Linked DNA regions of Homo sapiens: regions 1 and 3 are each linked to region 2. Evidence: promoter capture Hi-C in human tissues and cell types (Jung and others, 2019). All regions are on one chromosome and are shown on one strand. Each heading gives the region's core, a stretch centred on a gene start or on the middle of the fragment in contact. The rest is flanking DNA. Distances are from core to core; before and after follow the strand shown.

Region 1 (3,766 bases), core at 1,226-3,725, 440 kb before region 2:
TGAGCTGGGGAGAATGAAGAGCCACTCTGGCAGAGGCACTGGGGCTGCCCTAACAGGTGTGGAGGAGGCTGGGGAGGTTCTTGCTGAGCAGCAGTGGGACAGGCCACATGGTTCCTAATTCAGGAGGTGACCCTGGCCAAGCCCTTTCTTCTCTGTCAGCCTCGGTTTCCCTATTGATAAAAAAAGGGGTTGGAGACCCAGTGTGGTGGCTCATGCCTGTAATCCCAGCACTTTGAGAGGCCGAGGTAGGTGGATCACTTGAGGTCAGGAGTTTGAGACCAGCCTGGCCAACATGGTGAAACCCCGTCTCTACTAAAAGTACAAAAATTAGCCGGGCGTCGTGGCGGGCGCCTGTAATCCCAGCTACTCAGGAGGCTGAGGCAGGAGGATCACTTGATTCCAGGAGGCAGAGGTTGCAGTGAGACGAGATTGTGCCACTGCATTCCAGCCTGGACAACAGAGCAAGCCTCTGTCTCAAAAACAAAACAAAACCCCAAAATGAGGGGTTGGGATCTGTGACTGCCCAGGACCCTTGAGGAGCCTGTCATGGGCAAGTGGGCCGCTGGTACCAGGCAGAGCTCCCAGTCCACTGTCCCCCACTCCCTAGCCCTGCCATGCTCCAAGGTGCCCAGCTCCTACCCGGAGCAAGTGCTGGGCTGGGAACGTCGGCCATCACCTCGCCATTGACTCAGGGAGGCTCACCATCTGGAGGCCTGAGGATGCCACAGCAACTTCCAGCCTGGTCAGCAGGGCAGGTATCAGAGGCGTCCACCCTGCCATGCTGACGATTTCCACCTCATTGCCGAGGGGCCCCCTGGGCCTCCCAGAAAACTGGAGTCATTGACCCTGGGAGGCAGAGGATCTTTGAAGACAACTTGTCTTCTGGGATTTTAGAACTTTTTGAAAGTTAAAATGAGGTCAGACACAGTGACTCATGCCTGTAATCCCAGCACTTTGGGAGGCTGAGGTGGGAGGATCGCTTGAGGCCAGGAGTTCCAGACTAGAATGGGCAACATAGTGAGACCCTGTCTCTAAAATAATTTTAAAAATTAGCCAAGCGTGGTGGTGCATACCTGAAATCCTAGCTACTTGGGAGGCTGAAGAGGGAGGATCGCTTGAGCCCAGGAGTTTGAGACCAGCCTGGGCAACAGAGTGAGACTCCATCACTACAAAAAATAAATTAAAGAAAATTAGCCGAGTGTGGTGGCGAATGTCTATAGTTTCAGCTACTCAGCAGGGCTGCGGTGGGAGGATCATTTGAACCCAGGAGGCCAAGGCTGCAGTGAGCCATGACTGTGCCACTGCACTCCAGCCTGGGTAACAGACACCCTGTCTCAAAAAAAAAAAAAAAAAAAATTAACCCATTTATGCCTTAAGTTGCAATTTTTAAAACTTTTGCAATCAGACCTTGGCAATGACCTTGAGAAGGAGGACAGAAATAATTCCCAATAATGGAACACTAGGCATAAATGAAATGATACACAAATAATACACAGGTCCAGAAACACACCCTCCTTGCAGCAGGACCAAATGATGGAGAAGACACATTGGCCTTCCACATTGTTGTGGGTTGAAAAGGATCTCCCCAAAATTCATGTCTATTCTGCACCTCAGAACGTGACCTTATTTGGAATAAGGATTTTTGCAGATGTAATTAGAGTATGGATCTCAGAATGAGGTCACCCTGGGTTGGGGTGGATCCTAAATCCAGTTAGAGTGTTCTTACAAGAGAAAGGGATGGGAGATTTGCAAACAGAGACTCAGGAGAGGAAAGGGCCCTGTGAAGTCAGAGGCAGGGATTGAACAGTGCGGTCACAGGCCAAGGAACCCGGGAGTCCCCAGAAGCTGAAAGATTGCCCCCTGGAGCTGTGGAGGCAGCATGGCCCTGTAGACACCTTGATTTTGGACTTCTAGCCTCCAGAGCTATGAGAATAAATGCCTGTTATTTCCACCACCAAGTGTATGGTAATTTATTACAGGAAACCAGTAGACACCTGCCCCACGGCCCTGCTCCGTCTGCAGCTCCTCCCTCCAGGGTTCCTCTCTGCTCTCCACACATGACTGTGGCATGCTGAATGCAGAAGTTTTGTTTTGAAATGTGGTGTTTTGAATGCAGAAGTTTTGTCTGTTGAATGCAGAAGTTTCATAGGCACATACCAGACGCGGTGTTCCGTAAACGTTCCATAAATTGCTCTGGCCATTGGTGCAGATGGGGGCAGCTCCCAGTTTTCCTTGGTTACACAAGAAGCCACTGTGAACACTTTTGCCTTGTCTCTTCTGCACATGCTTGATGACTTCTGGAGGCTGGAAGATTCCTTAGAAGGAGAATTGCTGGGTCAAAGGGTAAGCCCGTTTGCAATTTGACTGATGCTGTCAAATAGAGTCAAAACAGAAACTCAGAATCTTAAGAAGGAGAGAAGGTTTGGTGCAGTGGCTCATGCCTGTAATCCTTGCACTTCGGGAGGCCAAGGTGCAAGGATCGCTTGAGCCCAGGAGTTTAAGGCCAGTCTGGGCAACACAGGGAGACCTCGTCTCTATAAAAAATACAAAAGTTAGCCAGGTGTGGTGGCGCATGCCTGTAGTCCCAGCTACTTGGGAGGCCGAGGTGGGAAGATCACTTGAGCTCAGGAGTTCACAGCTGCAGTGAGCCATGGTTGCACCACTGCTATTCAGCCTTGGTGACACAGTGAGACCCTATCTCAAAATAAATAAATAAATAAGAAAAAGAGAAGCAGGGAAACAGACTTTTGGATTTTACAGCATGGGACACTTCCAACCCCAGAATTATAAAACTTCAGGAGAGGGGACCTCAGGAGAACATCTATTCTGGGGTCTCACTTCAGGACCCAGGAGTGACATCTTCCAAGCCCTGTCTGGGTTTCTGTTTCCCTGGAATGGGCTTGGAGAAAGCAGAGGAGATAGGACCCAGGAGCCTGGAACTCTGGGGCTCCAAGGGAGCTCTGGCAGGGGGTGAGTGAAATGCCTTCCCCACCTGGGCACCCAGCTCTTCTACCCAGAGGCTGCCCCTTTCCAGCCGAGGTGCCAGGCCAGCTGGGCCTCTGTAGCTGCACACAGTGGCCCCTCTGTGCTTGGCACACACACACAAAAATGTGAACAGAGCCTGTAATCCCAGCACTTTGGGAGGCCGAGGCAGGTGGATCCCTTGAGACCAGGAGTTCAAGACCAGCCTGGAGAACATGGTTAAACTCCGTCTCTACAAAAAATACGTGAAAAAAGAAATTAGCTGGGTGTGGTGGTGCATGTCTATGGTTCCAGCTACTGGGGAGGCTGAGGTAGGAGGATTGCTTGAGCTGGGGTGGTTGAGGCTGCCATGAGCCAAGATTGTGCCTCTGCCCTCCAGCTTGGGTGACAGAGTGAGACCATCTCAAAAAAAAAGAAAGAAGAAAGAAAGAAGAAGAAAGAAAGAGAGAGAGAGAAAAAAAGAAAGAAAGAAAGAAAAAAGGAAAGAAAAGGAAAAGAAAAGAAAAAAGCCAGGTACGGCAGCTCACGCCTGTAATTACAGCATTTTGGGAGGCCGAGGTGGGCAGATCACAAGGTCAGGAGTTCAAGACCAGCCTGGCCAACATAGTGAAATCCCATCTCTACTAAAAATACAAAAAAAAAAAAAAAAAAAAAAATTAGCCGGGTTTGGTGGTGGACACCTGTAATCCCAGCTACTGGGGAGGCTAAGGCAGGAGAATCACTTGAACCTGGAAGGCAGAGGTTGCAATGAGCCGAGATAGTGCCACTGCACTCCAGCTCGGAC
Region 2 (3,795 bases), core at 29-2,528:
CACTGGACAAAATCCCCGTGGCTGGAGAGCGTCCCCCAGGGTTGTGGCTTCCTGGGAAACATTCCGGTCTCTCCCCACCACCAGCGCTATGTGAAGTACACTCGAAACCACAGTGGTAGCCGTGGTGGTCCAGAGATCCTGGTTTGCGCTTTCCCTTCAAGTCAAAAATGCAGGCTTGGAAGGGAGACAGAGCTGGGAATAACCACAGCCCTCCCAAGGCCCTTCCAGCCCTGGGAATCCGTATTGGTCAGGAAAGACCTCATGGAAAATTGGAGCTGGGGATAAAGTGTGGAGGATAGTAGGATTGTTTTTAAGTTTTTAATTGCAAAGTTAATTTTCAACAAAATATATATAGACATTTTTGACAGAAGAAAGTAAAACGCTCCTCTGCCACCCCCACAGCACAGCCCACTCCCATTCCTGCTGTTCCTTCTGGGCCTGGTCCACATGCCCACCAGGCACGTGGCACCGCTTGCCAACGAAGGCAGACTGCAGTGGGGGTGGGGGGTTTCTCTGGACCTGTGAGGCTCTAAGCCCCCAAGGATTCAGAGGAGAGAATTTCCATCATCCTCTGAGATCACAGGAAGATTCTGTAATGAGGGTGGCGGGGAGTGAACTCTGCTCCTTCAGAAGGTTGGAGGTGGGGGTGACGGGCAGGTGGCCACAGTATAAACAGAAGTTAGGTCAAAATCCGAGCCTCCCCCCAACCCCCAACACTGGCCTCTTCTCCACCTCTAACCGCTCCCACTCCAGCCCCATCCACAGTCTGGTCCGGTGAAACGTGCCTAAGCTCGCAGGCGGCTCCAACGCAGCCACCCGGTGACCTTGGACAGAGGCCTGACCTCAGGTGTCTCAGTTTCCTCATTTCTATTGTGAGCCTGTCCACGGCAAGGCTCAATTGCGACCGAGCTTGTGGCGCGCCCAGTGCACAGCCCCACCCGGAAGAAAGCTCCCTCCCGGGTGGATGTGAACATAACCGGCTTGGGGAGGGGGCCCGAGCACGGGAGGGCTGGGATGGGGGTCACCCAGGAGCCCCGCCGCGCGGCCCTCGGGTCGCCGGCCCCTGCGCTGTGACCGCGGCGAGATAAGGTCCCAGGCGCTGCCCTCGCTCCTCGCCGCATCCCCGGCGGCGCCCCCAGCCGGGCGCCCGGCACTGAACGGGTGCGGGGCTGGGCCGGGGCCAGGGCCGGCCCGGGGAAGCGAGTGGGGCGGGGCCGCCGCGCCCGCTCCCCCTCCCCGCCGCCTGCCGTCTTCTCCTCCTCCCGCCGCCCGGGCTCAGAGCGGCGGCAGCAGCGGCCGCGGCGACAGCTCCAGCTCCGGCTCCGGCTCCGGCTCCGGCTCCGGCTCCCGCGCCTGCCCCGCTCGGCCCAGCGCGCCCGGGCTCCGCGCCCCGACCCCGCCGCCGCGCCTGCCGGGGGCCTCGGGCGCCCCCGCCGCCCGCCTCACGCTGAAGTTCCTGGCCGTGCTGCTGGCCGCGGGCATGCTGGCGTTCCTCGGTGCCGTCATCTGCATCATCGCCAGCGTGCCCCTGGCGGCCAGCCCGGCGCGGGCGCTGCCCGGCGGCGCCGACAATGCTTCGGTCGCCTCGGGCGCCGCCGCGTCCCCGGGCCCGCAGCGGAGCCTGAGCGCGCTGCACGGCGCGGGCGGTTCAGCCGGGCCCCCCGCGCTGCCCGGGGCACCCGCGGCCAGCGCGCACCCGCTGCCGCCCGGGCCCCTGTTCAGCCGCTTCCTGTGCACGCCGCTGGCTGCTGCCTGCCCGTCGGGGGCCCAGCAGGGGGACGCGGCGGGCGCTGCGCCGGGCGAGCGCGAAGAGCTGCTGCTGCTGCAGAGCACGGCCGAGCAGCTGCGCCAGACGGCGCTGCAGCAGGAGGCGCGCATCCGCGCCGACCAGGACACCATCCGTGAGCTCACCGGCAAGCTGGGCCGCTGCGAGAGCGGCCTGCCGCGCGGCCTCCAGGGCGCCGGGCCCCGCCGCGACACCATGGCCGACGGGCCCTGGGACTCGCCTGCGCTCATTCTGGAGCTGGAGGACGCCGTGCGCGCCCTGCGGGACCGCATCGACCGCCTGGAGGTGAGCGCCGCGCGCCGTCGGGGGAGCCGCCCGGGTGGTGTGAGGGGCCGCCCGGCCGCGGTCGTCCGGCGGTCCCCGAGCCTCCGGTCTCCCGTCTGTGTTCCGGGGACGATCGCGCCTTCCTCGCTGGCGAGGCGGGGGGATTTCGATAGGGAACGCGGGCAGGCGTCTGGCACGGTGACTGAGGCACAGAGGGCGCGCCAGAAAGATTCGCTCCCCACCCTTTTCCGTCTCCAGGCACCTCTCTGAGCCTCAGTTTCTGTGTCTGTAAAATAGGTATAACAGTGTCCACTTGTAGTGGAAATTGAATCAAATGTAGGTGTGTGAAAATGCTTGGCACGTACTAGGACCTCATTAAATGTCCCTTTCATTTCCTTCTTCCGGACACCCCCAAATCAGCCCAGCTCCACGCTCACACTTTATGGCCAGGAGATGGATGCGCTGTCCAAAGGACTTGGGGTCCTCCCCTCATTACACAGAGCCGGGAACAGAGTGCCCTATAAGACAAACCTGGGTGCCCCTCACCACCTCCCTACCCTGAATCTCCCACTCTGGCTCAGACTATGACCCAAACCGCAGGAGCTCAGGTGCCAGGCGCCCAGCCTCACACACCTGGAAGCCCACAGCTCTTGGGTGGGGGCTGAATGGAGAACAGGGCCCCCCGAGCTCCTCCTCCTCCACTCACTTTTCCAGGCTTTCCTGACTCAGGCTTGGGGTCAGACACAAGGGGTCCAGCATGGGGGAACCCACTCTTGGCTCTCATGTGACCCTGGGCCAGTCATTTCCCCCCTGGAGTCCCATGGCCACCTTCCTCCCTGTAAGAATGAATTTGGGGCTCCCAGAAGTGCAAGGCAGACAGACTGGGCAGGACAAACATCCGGGACACATTCACTACCCCAGCCATGGCCTGACTTCCAGACCACAAGGAAGGGGGTTAAGCAACAAAATCAGATCTGTGGAAGGAAGAGAGAGAAAGAGGCCAAAGCCCGCGCTGCCCCCTCTGCTACCTCCACCCAGGTGGAGTGCAGCAGGCAAGTTGGAGGGAGGAGAGAGGCGGGGAGTAAATGCAGGGACCCCTTACTCCCGGGGCTTTTTAAGTTAAATCCTGGGCAAGCAGCACTGGTGATGCCCACTCACAAGGCTGAGGATGTCGTGGTCTGACAGCCCTCCAGGACGTCTGTACTGGTGTCAGCACCCTCCCCACAGGGTGTCAGAGTGCAGCCAGTCAGCCATTGCAGCCAACCCCTCACCTTACGGATGAGAAAACTCAGCTCAGAAACGTCCTAAGAGAGGTGGCAGAGGCAGGAGAAAAGCCGGGCCCATACCCACCTCTTCCCCGACTCCAGCTCTGGGGGATTTCTAGGATGAGAGAACCAAGAGCAGGAAAATAATCAGGAAAAAGGTGAAAGTATGCAATGAAGGGAAGTCTTAGTTTTCTCGCCTGTAAAATGGGGATAGTAATAGCACCTACCTCACTGGGATATTAGGAGGATTAAGTACTTTATATGAAAGGCCAAGAATAGTGCCTGGCACACAGGTATGTTCAGTCAATTTGAGTGATGGCTATTTTTATCATTAAGCTATAATATTACTCATTTTTAAAATACAGCCAAAACTCAAAATAGGAACAAACAGGTTTTAGGCAACAGGTTTTAGTCATGTAAAAAACAATTTTTGACTTTCATTGAATAAACTTCCTCGTGCCTGCCATAGCCCCTGCCCCC
Region 3 (3,435 bases), core at 307-2,806, 290 kb before region 2:
ACACAAAATTATCACTGAGAATCTCAGAAACATAAACTTGAGAATTGAGGAAACATGAGAGGCTGGAGTTTCAGAATCTAAGAAACAGAATCTTTTTTTTTTTTTTTTTTTTGAGACGGAGTCTCGCTCTGTCGCTCAGGCTGGAGTGCAGTGGCGCGCGATCTTGGCTCACTGCAAGCTCCACCTCCCGGGTTCACGCCATTCTCCTGCCTCAGCCTCCCCAGTAGCTGGGACTACAGGCGCCCGCCACCACGCCTGGCTAAATTTTTGTATTTTTAGCAGAGACGGGGTTTCACCGTGTTGGCCAGGATGGTCTCGATCTCCTGACCTCATGATCCGCCCGGCTTGGCCTCCCAAAGTGCTGGGATTACAGGCGTGAGCCACCGCGCCCAGCCAGAAACAGAATCTTAGAATTGTAGAACTACAGCCTTGGAATGTCAGACCCCTAGAAGTGTGTCATTTTTGAGTGGGCCTCCTGTTCCAGCCTTCAGTCAGTTGGGGACCCAAGTCTCTGCAGCATCCCGGAGTACCCACGTCGTAGGTCTTGGGGGCCTTTCCTGACCTCAGTGCTTTGCAGTGACAGGGACGTGGATCTTGGAGCAGTGCAGTCACAGGTTGAGTCTCCCTGATCCAAAATCCAAAATGCTGCCATGTGCGGTGGCTCATGCCTGTAATCCCAACACTTTGGGAGGCCGAGGCGGGTGGATCACCTGAGGTCAGAAGTTCAAAACCAGCCTGGCCAACATGGTGAAAACCTGTCTCTACTAAAAATACAAAAATTAGCTGGGGATGGTGGCGGGCACCTGTAATCCCAGCTACTCAGGGGGCTGAGACAGGACAGTCACTTGAGCCCGGGAGGTGGAGGTTGCAGGGAGCCAAGATCATACCATTGCACTCCAGCCTGGGTGATAAGAGTGAAACTCCGTCCCCTGCCGCCCCGCCCCCCCACCCCAACAAGAAAAACAAGATCTGAAATGCTCCAGAATCCAAAACATTTTGAGCACCAAAATGATGTTCAAAGGAAGTGTTCATTGGAGCAGTCTAAATTTCAGATTTTTGGATTGGGGATGCTCAGCTAGTATATATAATGCAAATATTCCAAAATCCTAAAAAAATTCGAAGTCTGAAACACTTCTGGTTCCAAGCATTTCGGATAAGGAATGCTCTGCCTGTGTGTGGTTGTAGGTAAGCCTCTTCACCTGTAAAATGGGTATGAAGAGAATACCCGCTCTCCTTAATGTAATAAGACCCACCAGGCAGGATATTGGAAGCCAGAAAGTCAGGATTCTTGGTCCACTTGTATGTGGTCCATGTCAAGCGTCCTTGGCCACTCCTGATTAAAACCCATGGAGGCTTTCGCCAGAGGGGGTGGGCCTCCCTTCATGCAGTGGGCATGTTCCATTGGGTTTGGCATGAATTGAGCCTAGGAAGGGAAGTAACATCTCCTGGACGTCTGTGTGCCAGGCTGTCTGCCCAGTGTGCCTCACAGATGAATATACTCCATCCACATACTAAGCCTACAGGGCAGGTGTGTTCGTTATCTCTTCCCCTCTAACATGGCAACTCAAAGCAATAAACATTGATTATTTCACATGGCTTCTGGGGGTCAGGAATTTGGAATTGTGCTAGCTGGTTCTTCAGTGGTTCTAGTCTGGGCTGCAGTCAAGGTGTTGGCTGGGCTGCAGTCATCTGCAGGCTCGACCAGGGCTGCGGGATCTGCCTCCGAGGGGGCTGCTCACGTGCCATCGAGTCAGGGCTGGACGTTGACAGGGACTGGTCCTCACCATGTGGACCTCTCCAGAGGGTTGCTTGAGTGTCCTTACAGTGCAGCCACCAGCTTCCCAGAGTGGGTGACCTGAGAGAGAGAGCAGGGAAGAAGCCACAGTGTCTTTTATGCCCTAGCCTGGGAAGTCACACAACACAGCACTGGGTGTGGGAATGGACGGCGCATAGGTGTGAATTCCAGGAGGTGGGTGTGGTTGGGGCCCTCCTCGGAGGCTGGCTCCTACAGTCTCTTCATTGTTTCGCTGAGAAAGAAACTGAGGCCCAGGGAGGCCGGTAGCTTACCCAGGACCTGACTGTTGGCACCCGCGTCCCTTTAGTAGCTGTAGTTCTCTCGTGATGAGGTTGCCAAGGACGTAGAAGACCCTGCCTTGCAGAATGGTAGAATGTACTGGGCTTCTTTTTTTTTTTTTTTTTTTTTCCCAGACAGAGTCTCGCTCTGTCGCCCAGGCTGGAATACAGTGGTGCGATCTCTGCTCACTGCAAGCTCTGCCTTCTGGGTTCAAATGATTGTCCTGCCTTAGCCTCCCAAGTAGCTGGGATTACAGGCACCTGCCACCACACCCGGCTAATTTTTGTATTTTTAGTAGAGATGGGGTTTCGCCATGTTGGCCAGGCTGGCCTTGAACTCCTGACCTCTGGTGATCCAGCTGCCTCGGCCTCCTAAAGTGTTGGGATTACAGGCGTGAGCCACTGTGCCTGGCCCATACTAGGCTTCTGATGGCCTGTGAGCCCGCTGGGAGGAGTGGGTTTTGAGTCAGCTGCCTACCAGATGTGCCTCCCAGGCACTGCAGTATTTTCCCAGTCCCCTCCCAGTTTAGCCCTCCTCCCATCACTGCAGCAGCCGGCACCTGGGGACATGTGATGCCGTTAACAGGCACGACTGTGAGTGGGACCTGCGTGTGTCATCCCTTCCCTCAGCTTGGAGGTGTTTGACCTCACAGGTCCCATCTGATGGCTGCACTATCTTCCTGGGAGCTCCTGACCTCTGGTAGCAGGTGGCAGGAGAAGGTACTGTCCCAGTGATCCAGAGTCTCCCAACATCTTGGCACCATGAATCTTTTGTAGATTCATGTAAATTCTCCCCAAGTAAATAAGATAAATCCCGACATTACAAACTCCAGGGGTGGACAGACTTGCCCTCCAGCTCCAGATGTGTCGCGGGCAATCAGCAGAGCGGGCTGCAATCACAGAGCCCAGGAGCCCCCTGGAGGGGTCGGGGTGCATCTGCAGGCCAGGTGGAGCCCTGTCCCTTTGGCTGGATAGCATGGGCATCCGGGGCTGTGTGTGCTGCTGGCCTGGCTTTGCCCCAAGCAACTCCAAGAGCACACCTTGGCCCTCTGCCTGCACCATCTCCCGGGTGAGCTGGCAGTGTCAGTTTTGGAGGTGCTCTGGCAAGCAAAGATGCCTTTCCTAAAACGAAGGCTAACTCCTTAATGCATCCAGATTTGTTTCTCTTGGCCAGTTTTCAGTTTGTCCTTCTTGTATGCTTCTCTGCTGGGTATCAAAGGAGTAAACGCTGGGACGCGAGTGCTCTGTGGGGCCCAGAGGCAGGGCTGAGCTGGCCGACCCTGGGGTTGCCCGGGGCGCACTCTCTGGGCTGGGGTGGGGTGGGGTGATGGCCAGCCGTGGCATGGGAAGGAGTTGAGTGGG

Evidence for each region. The method cuts DNA at HindIII sites, captures the fragments that hold promoters and counts their contacts. A contact is called where the count stands out against the background at its distance.
Region 1: a contact is called between a fragment that was not itself captured here and the fragment with the promoter of NPTXR in region 2, in 1 of the 25 tissues and cell types used here (dorsolateral prefrontal cortex).
Region 3: a contact is called between a fragment that was not itself captured here and the fragment with the promoter of NPTXR in region 2, in 1 of the 25 tissues and cell types used here (pancreas).

What each region holds. Positions count from the first base shown.
Region 1 is chr22:39,285,612-39,289,377 of GRCh38, reverse strand. No RefSeq gene overlaps it. Among named protein-coding and RNA genes, the nearest start is that of SNORD83B, 26 kb to the left of the region's middle. The HindIII fragment of the contact is 9,215 bases long and covers 1-3,766 here.
Region 2 is chr22:38,841,511-38,845,305 of GRCh38, reverse strand. NPTXR (neuronal pentraxin receptor) reads left to right here and starts at 1,278. Exons shown (of 5, transcript NM_014293.4): 1 at 1,278-2,071. The coding sequence starts at 1,448. RefSeq lists a silencer at 1,690-1,759. The HindIII fragment of the contact is 15,093 bases long and covers 1-3,795 here.
Region 3 is chr22:39,134,860-39,138,294 of GRCh38, reverse strand. The region is part of intron 4 of CBX7 (chromobox 7); the gene reads left to right. Among named protein-coding and RNA genes, the nearest start is that of CBX7, 16 kb to the left of the region's middle. RefSeq lists enhancers at 2,216-3,193, 3,300-3,435. The HindIII fragment of the contact is 3,206 bases long and covers 1-3,159 here.